6 separate regions of the Homo sapiens genome follow, and regions 1, 2, 3, 4 and 5 are each linked to region 6. The links are contacts of gene promoters, found by promoter capture Hi-C in blood cells and fetal thymus (Javierre and others, 2016). All regions are on one chromosome and are shown on one strand. Each heading gives the region's core, a stretch centred on a gene start or on the middle of the fragment in contact. The rest is flanking DNA. Distances are from core to core; before and after follow the strand shown.

Region 1 (2,725 bases), core at 61-2,560, 980 kb before region 6:
ATTTCATGACAAAAACATCAAAAGAAATTGCAACAAAAGCAAAGATTCTCTCTCTTACTGCAAATTTTATTTAGTTAGGAGTTTTTTTTTTTTCCTTAGGAAATAACTCTCATAAACTATTTTCTCAGAATGTAATGCATAATCTGGATAGTATATACAACTTAGACCTTATGTTCCTCAAGAATATATCTACTAATGCCTATTTTGTTTTAGGCTGTTCTGTGATTTGTGCCTTTAGAGAGTTTACAGTCTGCTTGAAGAAATAAAATATCTCAACATAAAGATAAGCAATACAGGGGATGAAGCCAAGATAGAGGACTAGAAGGAGCTCATATGCGCCATTCTCACAAAAAGGAAACAAAAGGGCTAGTGAACACTGACCCTGCAGGTCAATCATCTGAGAAGCCATGTTGGGATCCATCAAGGCAGCAGGAGAACACAGGGAGCAGAGAGGAGCAAAGGTGGGCACCAGCCTGTGTGGGCTCAGCGTAGAGTCAGGAGAACCTCTCCAACATGGCAAAGAGTGAGAGAGAGCCCCCAGGTGGATTCATGCTTTAAAGACTGGGAATAGGACAATCCCCTCAGCCTTCCCATGACCCCTCCCCCTGCACTATGCTTCTAGACTGAGGCAGAGAGCCACACAGATGTGGGAGCAACTCTTGGATTCAAGGGGACCTCTACAAGCCTTGGGCTGTGAAGCAGACTAGCACCAGCACATCAGCCCCAATAGAGGCCACAGTTGTGGTGCCTGGGAACAGTAAGATTGCTCCACCCCCTCTTGCTGAACGTGGCTCGGAGCTTCCAGTCCAGCAGTCTCTCTTTCCCCTAAACTCGGCCAGCCACTCCACCCACCCACACCACCCCAGTGCTAGCCAGGTGGCCAATGCTTGCTAGAGCTTCTAGCCCAGTGGTCCCACTTCTGTGTGAACTCAGCCAGAGAGTGCAGTCTCCTATTGTCCTGGGAAACACCCAGACAGTAGGGTGCATGATCCCATACATTTCTGATACTGATAGCTAGGTGGGCAACACCTGTAGAGCTTTGGGCCCAGCGATCCTGCTTCTGTGGAAATTCAGCTAGTGGGTGCAGCCTCCTGTTGTTCCAGGAAGCATCTGGACAACAAGGCAGTTATCCTCACCCACTCCCACCACTGGTAGCCAGGGGAGCCACATCTGCTAGAGCTTCTCGCCCAGTGGTTCTACTTCTGCCTGAATTTACCAAAGAGTTCAGCCTCCTGTTGCCCTGAAAACCCCTACAGCAGGGCAGGCAACTCCATCCATCCTCCCCTCCCATAGCCAGACAGGCCACATCCACTAGAGTTTACAACCCAGAGGTCCTACTTCTGCCTGAATTCTGCAGACAGGCACAACCCATGTTTTCCAGGAAGTACCCAGACAGCAGATTAGGGCTGACTTGGCAAGGATACAGCTTGTCTACTAACTGCAGCCCCTACCGAAGGGAGCCCAGTGGACCAGAACACTCAACAAAAGAAACGTGGGCATGGAAACAGTAATCAGAGGAGGCTTCTCCAAGACCCAGTAGTGAACAAGAATTGAATCCAATCAACTGAACTCACCTTATATCATACATAATCAAATTTCCAAGGGCATCAAAGGACAACAAAAACAACAACAAAAACAAAAACAAAGGACAGCAACTTCAAAGACTGAAGGAACATCAGCCCACACAATAAGAAAGAGCCAGCACAAGAACTCTGGCAACTCAAAAGGCCAGAGTGCCTTCTTTCTTCCAAGTGATCACACTAGTTCCCCAGCAAGCATTCTTAACCAGGCTGAAATGGCTGAAATGATAGAAATAGAATTCAGAATATACATAGGAATAAAGGTCATTGAGATTCAGGAGAACATTGAAACCCACTCCACAGAAGCTAAGAATCACAATAAAAAAATACAGGAACTGATAGACAAAATAGTCATTATACAAAGGAACCAAACTGATCTGATAGAGCTGAAAAACACACTACAAGAATTGCATAATGCAATGGCAAGTATTAACAACCGAATAGGCCAAGCTGAGGAAAAAAATCTCAGAGCTTGACACTGATCCTCTGAAATAACTGTCAGACAAAAATAAGAAAAAACAATAAAGGAGAATGAATAAAACCTCCAAGAAATATGGGATTGTGGAAAGAGACCCAATATATGACTCATTGGTGTGCCTGAGGAAGAAGGAGAGAAACCAAGCAATTTGGAAAATATATTCTAGGATATTGTCCATTAAATCTTCTCCAACCTTGCTAGAGAGGCCAACATGCAAATCTGGGAAATACAAAGAACCCTCGTGAGCTATTACCCAAGAAGATCATTCCAAGACACATAATTATCAGTTTTTTCAAGGTCAAAATGAAAGGAAAAATGTTAAAGGCAGCAAGAAATAAGGGCAGGTCACCTACAAAGGGAACCACCAGGCTAACAGTTGACCTTTCAGCAGAAACTCTACAAGCCAGAAAAGATTGGGGGCCTATATTCAACATTCTTAAAGAAAAAAATTTCTAGCCAATAATTTCATATCCCACCAAACTAAGTGAAGGATAAATAAGATCCTTTTTAGATAAGCAAATGCTAAGGGAATTCATTACTATCAAACCTGTGCTACAAGAGGTCCTGAAAGGGGCACTAATTATGGAAAGAAAAGACCATTACCAGCCACTACAAAAACACACTTAGATACACAGACCAGTGATACTATATAGCAATGTTTATAGTA
Region 2 (2,796 bases), core at 114-2,613, 970 kb after region 6:
CCTACCCTAAAGTCAAGATACTCACTTATATTTTCTTCACTTTCAGAGCTGTAATCAGTCTTGAATTTGTTTTCACAATTCGTATGAGATATGGGTCAAAACTCAGTATTTTCAACGTGGGTATCCAATTGACCCAGCACCATTTATTGAAAAGAACAATTTCTTTCTTTAGAAAATTGAAGTGTTGCTTTTGCTTTTGATTGAGTTGACTCTGTGTGTATGTGTGTGTATACAAACAATACAAAAGTATGTAAAGTAAAAACAGTGAACACTTCCTTCTGAACATGTGAAAATGGGTAAATGCTGTAAATGGCTTGATTTGTATTGTTTTAACTGCTTTAAGGAGAATTATGCTTTTTTTCTTCAAGTGGAATAACAATATGTTACACAACTTCCTTTTTTTTTTAAACTCAGATACTTCAGGCATTCTCTGTACTGTAAATGCTTTGCTTCATTCTTTGATGCATACTTAGCATTTTATAGTATGGATGGACATTAATTTGTTTATAATTCCTATGGTGACAAATATTCTGGAGTTCTCCATTGTTTCCCCATTTTGTATAAATGCTTCAGAAATAGTCTGTGTCTATCCTGTTGCATTTGTTTGTTTCTGTAAGGTAGAGTTCTAGTAGTGAAATTATGTGTTAAGATAGTATGTACATTTTAAATTCAGAATGATGTTGGCCAAGTTTTCTCTAGAAAGGACATACCAATTTGTAGTTCTGACCAACAGTACTCTTTCTGACCAACAGAAAGTACTCTTTTTCTATACACCTGCCAATACTGGATGTTACTAGTCTTTTTTTTGAGACAGAGTCTCACTCTTCTCACCCAGGGTGGAGTGCGGTGGTGCCATCTCGGCTCACTGCAACCTCTGCCTCCCGGGTTCAAGCGATTCTCTTGCCTCAGCCTCCCAAGTTGCTGAGATTACAGGGACCTGCCACCATGCCTGGCTAATTTTTGTATTTTTAGTAGAGACAGGGGTTTGCCATGTTGGTCAGGCTGGTCTCGAACTCCTGACCTCAGGTCTGCCCGCCTCAGCCTCCTAAAGTGCTAGGATTAAAGGCGTGAGCCATCACACCTGGCCAGGATGTTACTAGTCTTTTACAGTTTAGTCCAAGCTTGTCCAACCCACAGCCCATGGGCCACATATGGCCCAGGACGGCTTTGAATGTGGCCCATCACAAATTCGTAAACTTTCGTAAAACATTTTGAGTTTTTTTTGGATTTTTCTTTTTAATCTCATCAGCTGTCGTTAGTGTCAGTGTATTTTATGTGTGGCCCAAGACAATTCTTCCACTGTGGCCCAGGGAAGCTGAAAGATTGGACATTCCTGGTTTAGTCCATCTGATAAGCGAAAAGTCTGATGTTACTATTTGCATGTTTCTTGAACTTCTTTGAGAATGAGTAACTTTCCGCATTTTTCAGGTATTTTATGGTTTTCTCATTCTGACTTGCTTTTTGTTTATGTCAGTTTATTATAATATCTAACTGAAAATTCAAGTTTTATAAGTCATCATCATATTTCTCTAATTCTTCAGTTTATCCCTTTTGAAGATAGCTGTCCCAGTTGCTTTATACAACTTTACCCAAAAGTAAGCTTGATAGTTTAAACCAAGGATTATTCAATGTTGACCAGTTTACCAGAAACCAAATCATAGAGCAATCAGTTTATTGAGATTTAAAATTTTTTCTCAAATTTTTGTTTCTTTCCTATCCCACTCTCTACCTTTGGTCGCAAAATAGTTGATATGAACTAGACTGAGTATAAGGTTTTATTCTGAGTGTAACTGGGGCAAAGGTAGGTCGTGATTCAAGATAGTGAGATCACACTTAGGGGAAAGCCTACTCATTGCTTATATTACTGCCCTAGTAAAGCATTGCAAATCCTGAATCAGTTTTGCAAATTGACTGTCTAGAAAATTGATTCTTTGAAATTGCCCCATCTGGAGCAGTAGTTCTCAGGTGTGGCTGGCAGGGGGCCAGGAGGTGGGAGAGTATTGCAAAATTTCCAGGAGGCAAGTGTAGTTTGCAAAACCATCTATTAGTACCACAACTTAATATACATTTGGAAAATTTAGAAAAGACTTGTTAATACGTATTTTAGAAAATAAGATTATTAGGATGTCTCAGCAGGAATATCCAGAAGACACAGAAACGCAGTCATACAGTTACTGTCAGTGTAGAGAAAGGGGATAATATTTTTGTATTTCTTAAAGTTGAGTACTAACAGTTGAGAAATACTCTTATAAGCAGCCATATTCTTAATACAGATTCTCTAACAAATTACCCCCTCCCCAAATAACCATATAAATAATCAAGCAATATAAACTGAGAGAATTGGGTCTCTAAGAAACAGTTTATAAAGTCTGTCAGTTCATTAATGACTGTCCAGATTCATTCCCTGAAACACAAACTCCAGTTCTTCCCGAATAATGAGCTGTTGTCACAGTTCCAGTCCCAGAGTTGGCGGAATTCCTGCTAACCTTAGCTTACCCGCTCTCATTTCTCATTTATATCATGTCCTATTTATTTCAGCCAACAAGATAAAAATTACTTCCTAGCCCTCAGTGACATGGCTCCATAAATCCCCAACATAAACAAGTGGCAAGGCAGACAAACCAAAAGAGCCAATTCATTAACATTAGTGAATTCATGGCAGCCTGAGTGCGAGTGGCCAAGTTATTAGTCTGCTTTAGAAAGTCATTCCACAAATGTTTATGGAGTGTCTTTTTGCCAGGCTGGGTGTGAGAGATATAGCCCATGCCCTGTGGGCTCTGGCAGGAGTCTCTAATT
Region 3 (2,924 bases), core at 141-2,640, 850 kb after region 6:
CCTGAGGATAAGAGACATTGTCTTTCCCAGCCAAAAGGCACCTTTAGTGAGTAAGGTCTTGAGGGAGTGTTGGAGCTTATCGCTCATGACATAAACTGTTCTAAAGGGAATCCCTTCAGAAGAATATATGGGGAACTTTGCTTAATCCTGTGAGCACACATACAAGTTGATCACCTAGTGCCTTAAGCACTCAAGTCTCTTGGGACCACCAAGACACATAAACGAGAAGAACTGACTCCAGGGTGATACTTTGAAGAGCTATTCCCACAATCAGCACACTCAATCCAAAACACCTCCCACTAGGTCTTTTTGGTCATTCAAAAGTAAAGTCTAAATTCTGAGCAATCATACTTCTAAAACTGAGTCTTCTTCCTTATGGAGAGATCCACCCTTAGAAACATCAGCTAGATTCATTTTTAATATTTATGGCACTTTTATATGCAAATATTTAGAAAAATGGTCTCACATAACTCACAATGACCAAATGAGCCAAATTATAATGGCCAAATGGGGGTAACTTTTAAGTACCTAACCTAGTTTGCACACTCAATTAGAAAAAGCTGGCACTAAAATAAAATAAAGCAACTGGCAGATTGATTTTCAGTGGTACTTGGAAGCTTCAAAAGAGGTTCTGATAAAATCATTTCTTTGCAAGAAGAAAACAAAAGTGCCTAAAACAATTTTTTTTTTTTGAGACGGAGTCTCGCTCTGTTGCCCAGACTGGAGTGCAGTGGCGTGATCTCTGCTCACTGCAAACAAACTCTGCCTCCCGGGTTCCCGCCATTCTCCTGCCTCAGCCTCCCAAGTAGCTGGGACTACAGGTGCCCGCCACCGCGCCCGGCTAAATTTTTTGTATTTTTTAGTAGAGATGGGGTTTCACCGTGTTAGCCAGGATAGTCTCGATCTCCTGACCTTGTGATCAGCCCGCCTCGGCCTCCCAAAGTGCTGGGATTATAGGCGTGAGCCACCGCACCCGGCCCTAAAACAATTTTTAAATTGAAAAAGACTGCTGAAATTTCTCCTTCTTCAGCTCTTCTTTCTCTTTTGTCAAAACTTCTTTGTTTGGACTTACCTTCCCTCTCTCCTCACCCCTCCCTCCCTCCTTCCCTCTTCCTTTCCTCCTTTCCTCCTTTCCTCCCTTCCTCCCTTCCTTCCTTCCTTCACCTCTGCCTCCTCCTTCTGCTGTTCTGACTCCATTTTGGGAATACCCTATGTCTAGTAGAGGAGAATCTGCCTTGGTTTAAAGAATTCCTGGATCCTCTTCAGGACCGCTACTGGATTTGCTAGAGAATTTGTTTTGTTTTTGAGACAGGGTCTTGCTGTGTCACTCAGGCTGGAGTGCAGTGGTGTAATCTCGCTTCACTGCAACCTCCACCTCCTGGGCTCAAATGATCCTCCCACCTCAACCTACCAAGTAGCTGGGATTACAGGCATGCACCACGATGCCTGGTTAATTTGCTAGAGAATTTGTATATGTGCTGCCGAAGTGAGCACAATTTGCTAGAGAATTTGAATTAAACATTCACACTTATAATCCTAGATTTTCTGATTTATTTCAGTTGGTTCACATTTAGTGTTACAAAGTAAAGCCAGGCTGGGCATGTGGCTCACGCCTGTAATCCCAGCACTTTGGGAGGCTGAGGCAGGTGGTTCACGAGGTCAGGAGATCGAGACCATCCTGGCTAACATGATGAAACCCTGTCTCTACTAAAAATACAAAAAATTAGCCGGGCGTGGTCGTGGACGCCTGTAGTCTCAGCTACTCAGGAGGCTGAGGCAGGAGAATGGTGTGAACCTGGGAGGCAGAGCTTCCAGTGAGCAGAGATCGCTCCACTGCACTCCAGCCTGGGTGACAAAGCAAGACTCCGTCTCAAAAAAAAAAAAAAAAAAAAGAAATTAAAGCCGAAGATTAGATAGCAAAGGCAAGTTGGAGAAATCCTTTAGAGGATCATGAATGGGTCTGCAATACCGCCAAAGTTTTACTAGCCACTATTCCCTTTGGTTTCTAAAGATTGGAACAAAATACAACAATGCAAATAAAATATTGATAAGGCCGTAATGTCATACTATGAAAAATTTGAAAAACATTTAAATAATATTCAGGCTTATCAGAAGAAAGTTATACTAATCACCAAAATGATATTCTCCTTAACTCAAGCTTTGTAAGTGGATTAGGTGAAGAATTGGCAGTTATAACAAAAAGACAATGCCCTATTTGGGGTACCTCTCAAACTCATGATCTAGTTAATTTTGCTGATCAAATGTCCTGTACCCTAACCCAGAAATAAAAGGAAAGGGAAGTTAAGCAGGGAGGAAAAGCAAATAAGATCACGAGTTTACAATTAAAACAATTGTCCAACCAATTTGTAACCCCTAAACAGCCTAAAAAGTTCCCAAACTGACCCAATCCCCTGCTTTGCAATTACTGCAAAAAGCCTGAATATTTCAAAATGGATTGTAGAAAACTAAAATGGAAATGACAGCAACAGGTCAAAGAAAAAGAATAAGGATGCTCTGAGGAAACCAAATGGACCTTTTCTTACCTCCTTATAAATACCTTAGGGAAGGTTAGAATTAATTTAAATGGAGACCAAACACAAACTCTTAATGACACTGTGGCTACATTATCAGTGATATATCTCACCTTATTACGAGGTTACATTCCTCAGAGTAAAAAACCAATACAAATCATGGGTGAAACAAATACTCCTGTATCACTATATCAATTTCAACCTATAGTTTTTCAGTTAGCTCCCCTAGAGGGAACCTAACATGTCTTCCTCTCTGCCCCCTCAGCCTCCAACCGTCTGATAGGGAGAGATTTCCTAGAGTTATATAATACTCACATATCTTTCTTTCAAAAGGGGGGAGGCCGGGTCCGGTGACTCATGCCTGTACTCCCAGCACTTTGGGAGGCTGAGGCT
Region 4 (2,960 bases), core at 95-2,594, 900 kb after region 6:
TGGCTGTAGTGGCTACAGGTAGGTGCCACCATATCTGGCTAATTAAAAAACCTTTTTTTAGAGACAGGGTCTTGTTACATTACCCAGGCTGGTCTGGAACTCCTGGCCTCAAGTGGTCCTCTCCTGCCTCAGTGTCCCAAGTAGCTGAATACTACTTTTTTAAAAGCAATGTATCTTGCAAATTTAGGAACATATCTAGGACTGAAAGTTAGTAGAGTTGGGGGAAAAAAATGTTTGAGAGTCTTACCCAGGGTTTGAAGCCCATCTCTGTACCGTTTCTTCATCATCACCATCACACAAATCAGCGAAAGTGGCTTCTAAATCCTCTAATTGATGAATTCGAGTATCAACAATATCTACCAAATCTTCCTTTAAATACATTGAAAAGCTGAGATTATATAGTTATTCTTTCAAAAAACAAGCAACATCCCATTACAAAAAAAACTTGGCTCTATTAGTTAAAACATAATTTTCAAGTACTAACCATGGGCTTCGCCAATACACACACACACACACACACACACACACACACACACACACACACTTTGAGCAGTCTTTGAGATCACTGTGGTAATTTGCAAGATATTATTAGTTATATGATAAATGAATAAAACCCCAAAGAAACAAATGGAGGATACCTCTGTTAGGTTGGTGCCAGGTTTCTTAAATTGGTACAGCTCTTGTAAGATTTTGTACTCTTCCTGGAAAACAAAACAAAAAATCCACATACCAGAAAAAAAAAAGTTAAAATTTTTTAATGATATGCTTTAAGGAAGAGACAACCTTCCTTGTGATACAAGAACATCTTAGATAATTATTTAAAGGTATGTATGGGAGAATCAGGCAAAATGTATACTTTAGATTTTTATTGTAATAATTTTATTGTAAATATTGTAAAATTTTGTTTTATTGTAAATATCACTTCTTCAAGGCAACTCTATCCAGCTGGGCATGGTACTACTATGTAAAAATTACCTAAGGAAGCATACTTGGTGGCTAATGGGTCACGAGATGAAAATATTTTAAATAATATTCTGCTATATAAATGCCATGTCCTAGGATCTAAACAGACTTAGCTGTTTACAGGAAATATACATATCTTTAATAACAACAACAAAGAACTCCCTATGTTCACTTTGCAGCCATTTCTCTAACAACAGAAGAGATCTCTGAAGTACAAAGGCAATACTGGAGGTAGAATGTCAAAGACATAGAACCTCGGTCAGGAGGCACCACACAAGGGGAGAAAGAGGCTTGCTATACAAACTTTGTAGGATAATGTTTCCCCTTGTTTAGCACAGCTACATGGATCCATTATATAGGTGGGTACACCTGGCCCCAGTAATCCTATTTAGGAGTATTCTCAGGAAAAGGTTATACCCAAGGGCTAAAATTCATTAAGCACAATGTTGTGGCATATCTTCAGTGCTTTATTCATTATAACAATCCTGAGTTGGGTATGATTATTATTCTGATTTGATACTTGAAGAAACTATGGGTCGGAAAGGTTAAGTAATTTTCCTAAGATCATATAGCTAATAAGCAGTAGAGTTAACAACAGAACTTAACTCCCCTAACTTTTGAACATGCTTCTTTTTTATGAGATGGGGTCTCGCTGTCACCCAGGCTGGAGTGCAGGGGTGCGATCACGACTCACTGCAGCCTTGACCTCCCAGGCTCAAGTGATCCTCCCATCTCAGCCTCCTGAGTAGCTGGACCACAGGCACGTGCCACTATGCCTGGCTAAATTAAAAAAAAAATTTTTTTTTAATAGAGATGGGGTCTTGCTACGTTGCCTACGCTGTTCTCAAACTCCTTGGCTCAAGTGGTCCTCCTGCTTTGGCCTCCCAAAGTGCTGGGATTATACGCATGAGCCACCATGCCCAGCCTGAACATGCTCTTAAGAAAAAAAAAAAGATGAACATCTGTCTTTCCTAATGATATTTAAAAAATTGCTACTAAATAATAAAGTTTAATATATGCTTTTTAAAAAGTCCATTGTACCAAAGGGTATTTAGGCTATACAAATCCTTGTGTTCCCAGGTTTCCTAATAGCACTCTAAAAGGAATAACTGCCACTGAATTCCTTATGTAACCTTCTAGAAACTTTCATTACAAATATTTATTACAAATATTTAGGTGAGTAATCAGGCACATCACTGTTTAAGGAATAATCTGTTACACAGGATTTATATATAGAATATCGCTGGAAAGATACACAAGAAACTGATCACAGTATTTGTTTCTGAAGCAAAGAACTGAGGGAATGGGGATAAGAGAGTGCTGTTTTTCAATGTACACTTGTCCCTTGGTATCCGTGGGGGATTGGTTCTGGGACCTCCTGTGGATACCAAAATCTGTGGATGCTCAAGTCCCTGACATAAAATAGTGTAGTATTTGCATATAACATATGCATACCCTCTCATATACTTTAAGTCATCTCTAAATTACTTGTGGTATCTAATACAGTGTAAATCCTATGTAAATAGTTGTTATACTGTATTGTTTTTTATTTGTATTATTTTTTACTCTTGTATTGTTATTTCTAGTTGTTTTTTATTTTTTCTGAATATTTCCTATCTGTGGCTGGTTAAATCCAGGAATACAGAACCCACGGATACAGAGGGCTGACTGTATATACCTGTACTGTATGACTTAATTTTTATCCATCACCCATGTATACATTACCCCAATTAATAAATGCAAAATAATGAATACTATCTAGAGCAGGAGTTGGCAATCCACAGCCTATAGCCTGTTTGTGTATGGCCCTCAAGTTAAGAATGGTATATACAACTTTAAAAGGTTTAGAAAACAACAGAAAAGGGTATTAGTAGAGAATGTGAACCCCAAAGCCTAAAATAATTGCTAGCTGGCTGTTTAAAGAGTTTGCTGGTTCCTCATCTAGAGAAAAGCCATACAATTCTCAAGATCTATGTGTTAAAAACACAATTATTTAC
Region 5 (2,803 bases), core at 294-2,793, 920 kb after region 6:
AATTATTTTTTTCAACAGCCGTGCCATTACAAATTACATATATCTTTGACATGTGGCATGGTTCACTAATTTCTATACAATAACTAAGATTTACTGCCCAAATGTAAACTCTGATTTTAGAAGTGTATGAGATGAAGAATGTAGAATCCAAATCTCTGGCTGCTTTATTTGGGATAGCTGGTATATATCTGAGGATTGTATATATATCAGAAACATTATTCAAAGGAGTCTTCCTTTAGAACAGGGGAATCTTTAAGTGGAAAGCAATTTCTATTTTAATACCTAAGCACTCACCGATCTCTGTCAGTTTTGTAAGTTCTATTTTCAATGTATTGACATTTCTGTTTGGTGATAGGTTGGGGGATATTTTTGAGTTCAAACATTTTAATGGTCTTCTTTCTGGACTCAGGTTAATATAGCATTTTATTTTTCCTGTTCTAAGATTGGAAGGTTACTTCCTTTAGACTTGTAGTTCTGATTCAGACACACTAGAGTTCAGATTTCTCTTCTAGGTCCTCATTGTTAAATAGGCTCAAAAGCTATTAATATTATTAAACCCCAGTTTTACATTGGAAGGTTTTAAAAATTCCTCATCTATTTTTTTTTACATTAAGTAAGCCCAACATCTCTATTTAGTTTTTTTTCCAGATGAAAAATAGCATTCAAGTGACTTAGTCATGGCCTCATGGCAGGTTAGTGATAGCTAGATCTACAACTCAAGCCTATAAGCCATAAGCATTAAGAGCTCTTTCATTATAGAACCTTGTCCTAATTTTCACTATAAAAGCTTTATAATTTACATTTATTTGATAGGTAAAATAGAGCATTTTTTAGAAATCAATAGGATGTGGAGTTCTTTAGAGTTTTCCCTCTAGGTTAAATAACCAAGGATTGGCTGATTGCAAGGTTTTAAGGGAAGATTAGGATAAAATTCCCATTATTGCGTAGCATCATGTATGACTTCTTTCTTTAAAGAAAACTGCAAAAATTCTCCAAGTTAGTTAACTTCTGTAAAGTGAAAAGCTCCTTTATCCTCTAATAAATTAAGAAGGCATAAAAATGTCCCCCAGTGAACAGTGCCTGAAAAATTCCTAGATGTGGTCCATTTATTTACAAGATGAATTCAGTGAAAAGAGATGGTGTTTTTGAGTCTTTCTGTTGAAAACAGCTCTGTGTATTAATTCCTTTAAGAGAGCGAGAACGGGAGAGACACAGGCATCGAGACAACCGAAGATCACCATCTCTGGAAAGGTCCTACAAAAAAGAGTATAAGAGATCTGGAAGGTAAGCAAGGAGTTGACACTGAAAGAAGTCATAGGATTATCTCCTTGAATTCAGATTTTGTGCTTGTATGGAGCAACAGCCAAGTCTTCATAATGGCCTCAGAGTCTGTCCAAGATGACCTGTGAAAAGCTAAAGCAGACTGTAATTTAAAAGACTTTACTTTCAAGATGCATTGATTATGCACAAGGAAAATCTTGATAAATTTCCAAAAATTAGAAATTATACAGACCACTTTTTCTGACCACAGTGCTATAAAACTATACATTAATCATTTTAAAAAACCTTGGAAATTCATAATTATGCTCTTAAATTTACATGTTTCAGAAAAAAAGAGCAAAACTGCAGTCATATTTTCATTAGAAAATGACATTGAGATTGCTATCACCCAAAACTTAAAGGGTGTAATCAATTCTATATCCCGAAGTAAAATTTTGTGGTCTTACATTAATATGATGGTAATGAAGAACAGCACTCTAGAATCTGACAGATTCGGGGTCAGTTATTAGCTCTCCCAATTTTATTACTGGGCAAAGTTATCAGTGTCTTCGTTTGTAAAATAAGGACAGTTATATGTACCTTCTTGAGTGATAAGGGGTCATTGAGATAATGCATGTCAAACACTTAGAACTGGGCCTGAAGTAAGTGCCAAATAAATGGTAACTATGTATATAATTATTATCTGAGCACTTGGCTATAGAAATTGGTGGAGCTTAAGAAAAGCAGAAAAAGGGATTTAAAGATAAATTAATGAAATGGAAATAGAACTACAGTGATATAACTATATTGTAAGTAAATGCAAATACAATTTTTAAAGTGGGAAATAAAAGAAAAATCTACATAACATTAGGTTTGAGAAAGTGTATTGTTACAGGAATGAAAAGAAATTAAAAAATTTAAAACCGTTTAAAAAATTAACTTGAATGTGATGGGTTGATTTCTAAGAAAACAAAAATAATTTCACACAAGAAGCAGAAAACTTTAATAGGTCAATAACTCGAAAAATGGAAAAAGCTTACTTTGCACCACCTCTAAAAAAAGCTTTAAAGTGGTCTTGAACACTAAAAAAAGATGGAAGGAAAGCTCAGCTCATTCTGTAGTAGCAGGAAAAACCAGATGGCAAAACCTAACCAAGGGAAAAAAAATGACACAAAAACGACACAGCAATCTCTCTTACAAATATGGATATAAAAACACGAATTAGGATATTAGCAAATGTTTTCAGTAGTTTGTTAAAATAACAGATAGAGTTTATTCCAAGACTGCATGGATAGAAAAGTTAATATTAGAAAATCTGTATTGTATGTGTCAAAATCTGTAGGGTTATCTCAGTACTTACCTTTTAGGTATTTAAACTAAAATCAGCATCCATATGTGAGTAAAAACTAGTAAACTAGAAATATTAACAGTTGTCTTTAACATGATGAAGAATGGTAGCTCACGATGAACCTGATGGATACCATCCCCAAAGAGTCAAATGTGGTGTTGAAACCTGCAGGCCTTTCCCATACAAATTTGAAAA
Region 6 (2,990 bases), core at 152-2,651:
CCGGCTTTTTTTTTTTTTCTTTTTTTTTGAGACGGGGTTTCACCATGTTGGCCACTGACCTCACCTCGTGATCCACCCGCCTCGGCCGCCCAAAGTGTTGGGATTACAGGCGTGAGCCACCGCGCCCGGCCAGCATTTCCTTTTAATGTTCATATCCAACAATGAGGAGAGATGAGGAGCAGGGAGTCTGGGGGATGGGCATGGAGAAGGTAAGGAAGAGGTGAAATGCAGGCAGTACATATGTACTTGATGGAAGACACGAAACATAAGGCCAGAGAAACTAGACGATCAGAAGAGGGACTGGAAGAGGAAAGAGAATGGTTGAAAACGAACTGAGAAACTAAAGGGAAGAAAGCGAGGAAACAGAGGGAAAGAGGAAATGCTTACATGGGGGCAAGTACTGTTCTGTCCTTACCACTAAAGATCTGGCACGTGATCTGGTCTCCCTCTCACTTGACTCCAGCCAGACTGATCTTCTTGCTCTTGAACATTCATTCCTTCATCTGGACCCTTCCACTTGCTGCTCTTCCTGCAGGCATCTCCCAGGCCTGTCCTTCCTTCCTTCAAGTGGTCTCCCTAACCACACTCTACATGAAATAGCACCTCCCTTACCCTTATTTTCCTTACTCTGCTTTATTTATGCTTGAAGCTCCAGTCACCATCAGACAGAATTTCTGTGTTTTGGCTACCGGCTGTTGGCTGACATATACCCGCTCCTAGAACGTAAACTCCACGGGAACAGGGACTTTGTTTTGTTCTCTGCCGTATCTCCAGCACCTACAACACTGCCTGACACCCTGCTGGGTGACCGATATACGCCGGATGGCTCAGGGAGTGGGTGCAGGTCGAGGAAAGGGTATAGCAAGAGGTATGTCCGGGAGGGATGTTTAGGGTGTGCTTTTAGTCCAACAGAAAAGCACTCTCCATCCTTTTTCTATTTCTCTCCTCTCCTTCTCCCTCCCTCCGCACTTCAGAGGTTGGGGAAAAGCTGCGGGAAAGCAGGAAATAAGGAAAAATCCTAAATTGCCCAGCTCGAATTCCAATGAAAAATTAATGAGCGAGGAAGACAGGGAGGCAGGGAATAAGTGCACATGCAAAAGTTAAGGAAGCCAGTGGAAAGCAAAGAAAAAGGCGAACAGACGTCACTCTCTCTGGTCACGCTCCCCGACTCCCCAGAGGACAGGCGAGGCGCTTCTGGCACACGCCCCCGTCGCCCCGCGGCCGCGCGGCGTCACCACCACTTCGGAGAAGGCCAGGCCCCTCTTCCCCCGCGGGCTTCCCCGCGCCCGCACCGCCGAGGCCCCGGCACGCGCCCGGGGGAGCCGCGAAGACGGCGGGGACTACAGCTCCCAGGATGCCGAGCACAGGCGCGCCTGCGCAGTGCGGTCGGAGGCGGCGGTCTGTTCTCCGCTGAGGAGGAGCGGGGCAGAGGAGGGAGGCAGCGGGTGAGAGTTCAGAGTTCAGCAGCAGCAGCCCGAGCCCATGATTCCCATATGCCCTGTAGTTTCTTTCACCTATGGTGAGTCTAATGTGGCCCGCGAGGCCTCTGCCCGGCCCCCTCCCTGGCCCCGGGCAGCGGGGAGCCGCGGGGGTTGGGGCAGGCTCCGGGGAGGAGGCGGCGGCCGCCACCCGGGCGTGCGAGTGAGTGAGGGAGTGCGAGGCGGGAGGGGGAGGCGGCGCGGCCGCGGCCTGGGCCCCGCCAGGGCTGCTCTCACGGCGCCTCTCTCTTTCTCTCCCTGCCCTCCCTCGGCGTCTCGGCTCCTCTGTGTCTCTTGTCCCGCCATGGGACCCGACTCTTCGTGCCCGCCGCAGTGCCCAGCCGGCTGGGGGAAGATGCCAAAATGGCGACCGGCAACTACTTTGGATTCACCCACAGCGGGGCGGCGGCGGCGGCGGCTGCGGCCCAATATAGGTAACGGCATCCTGCCTTCTCTCTGTTCGCCCCTTGCTCTCCCCTCGGTCCGGATCCTGTCGATGCGACGCCCCCGCGCCCGTCCCCAGCCATCCCAGAGCCCCGGCCCGCTGCAGGCCTGGCCCGGCCCAGCCCGGCGGCCTCTCCCGCCCCGCCCCGCCCCGCCCCGCCTTGCCCGGCCCGGCCCGGCCCGCGGCGGGGAGCGGCCCCCAGTAGGGGGGAGGTAGAGACGGCGGAGGTGTAGGGACGTGGAGGCCTCAGGGCCCTTCAGCGGCCCCTTAACTAAAATGGCCTCCTGCGGCCGCCGAGCGGAGCCGCCACCGCCGCCCGGCAGGCCCCCCAGTCCCCGCCTCCGCGCGTCCAGCCCCCACCTCCCATCTTCTTCCCACTTGGGGGATGGAGAGGGTGGCTGAAGGGACCTCACGGGGAGTGCCGTGTCGCAGGTCCACTGGCTTCTCGTGCGACGCCTCTCTGCGTCGTCGCCTGGTGCTTCAACCCCCGGAGCCCAGATAACGTGTCGTTGTCTCGGGTACCTTTTCCTCCGCCGTGGGGCTTCTTCCCCAGACGCTCCATCGCTAGCGAGTCCTGCTGACAAACTGCGGGTGTCACTGTGTTCATCGGGTTCCTTTAGTTTTTCCTGCAAGGAGAGAGATTCACATACCAACCACCTGTAAATTGTGTAGTTCTTAGACTGGAAAAGATGTGCGAAGTTTCTAGTGCTGATAAATGAGTGCCCAGCCTTGTTTGAGCTATGGAGTTTAGGCCCCAGGTGGGCCTGTCATTCTCCTTGCGGGGGTCTTTCCCCTGCGGGGAATGGTGGGGAGGGAAGAAGATGCAAGTGAGATTGTACTGAGTCATTGTAATGCACCGGATGAAATCCCTGCTTTAAGGGAAGCTCTCATTTCTGAAGTCTGTAGTTCATTATACATCTTACCAAAGACAAACACAACAGTGGATTGTTAAATTGTTACTTTTGAGTCAATCTGAGACTTTTGATTCAGGCCATAAGCGCACACGGCTCCTGCGTGATATGCTTTTTATGTATGTTAGATGTTGGTTAAACCCAGGCAGTTTTTTT

The links. Contacts are between HindIII fragments. The CHiCAGO score rates a contact against its expected background, and 5 or more counts as called.
Region 1: a fragment that was not itself captured here is called in contact with the fragment with the promoter of ZFR in region 6 in 1 of 17 cell types (fetal thymus); the score reaches 6.8 in fetal thymus.
Region 2: a contact is called between a fragment that was not itself captured here and the fragment with the promoter of ZFR in region 6, in 1 of 17 cell types (total CD4 T cells). The highest score is 5.2, in total CD4 T cells.
Region 3: a contact is called between a fragment that was not itself captured here and the fragment with the promoter of ZFR in region 6, in 1 of 17 cell types (monocytes). The highest score is 6.4, in monocytes.
Region 4: a fragment that was not itself captured here is called in contact with the fragment with the promoter of ZFR in region 6 in 9 of 17 cell types (naive CD8 T cells, total CD8 T cells, total CD4 T cells and 6 more); the score reaches 11.9 in naive CD8 T cells.
Region 5: a fragment that was not itself captured here is called in contact with the fragment with the promoter of ZFR in region 6 in 9 of 17 cell types (total CD4 T cells, non-activated CD4 T cells, monocytes and 6 more); the score reaches 7.9 in total CD4 T cells.

Annotation. Positions count from the first base shown.
Region 1 is chr5:33,426,422-33,429,146 of GRCh38, reverse strand. All of the region lies in intron 1 of TARS1-DT (TARS1 divergent transcript), which reads left to right. Among named protein-coding and RNA genes, the nearest start is that of TARS1-DT, 13 kb to the left of the region's middle. The HindIII fragment of the contact is 7,594 bases long and covers 1-2,725 here.
Region 2 is chr5:31,476,746-31,479,541 of GRCh38, reverse strand. All of the region lies in intron 16 of DROSHA (drosha ribonuclease III), which reads left to right. Among named protein-coding and RNA genes, the nearest start is that of DROSHA, 54 kb to the left of the region's middle. The HindIII fragment of the contact is 479 bases long and covers 1,124-1,602 here.
Region 3 is chr5:31,596,076-31,598,999 of GRCh38, reverse strand. No RefSeq gene overlaps it. Among named protein-coding and RNA genes, the nearest start is that of PDZD2, 42 kb to the left of the region's middle. The HindIII fragment of the contact is 1,541 bases long and covers 620-2,160 here.
Region 4 is chr5:31,538,690-31,541,649 of GRCh38, reverse strand. C5orf22 (chromosome 5 open reading frame 22) reads right to left here. Exons shown (of 9, transcript NM_018356.3): 5 at 639-701; 6 at 248-369. Among named protein-coding and RNA genes, the nearest start is that of C5orf22, 7.9 kb to the right of the region's middle. The HindIII fragment of the contact is 5,751 bases long and covers 1-2,960 here.
Region 5 is chr5:31,519,604-31,522,406 of GRCh38, reverse strand. It overlaps DROSHA (drosha ribonuclease III), which reads left to right. Exons shown (of 36, transcript NM_001382508.1): 6 at 1,192-1,284. Among named protein-coding and RNA genes, the nearest start is that of DROSHA, 11 kb to the left of the region's middle. RefSeq lists an enhancer at 60-229. The HindIII fragment of the contact is 1,508 bases long and covers 790-2,297 here.
Region 6 is chr5:32,443,151-32,446,140 of GRCh38, reverse strand. It overlaps ZFR (zinc finger RNA binding protein), which reads left to right and starts at 1,401. Exons shown (of 20, transcript NM_016107.5): 1 at 1,401-1,519; 2 at 1,813-1,912. The coding sequence starts at 1,483. RefSeq lists silencers at 1,099-1,788, 2,019-2,358 and an enhancer at 1,750-2,307. The HindIII fragment of the contact is 7,512 bases long and covers 1-2,990 here.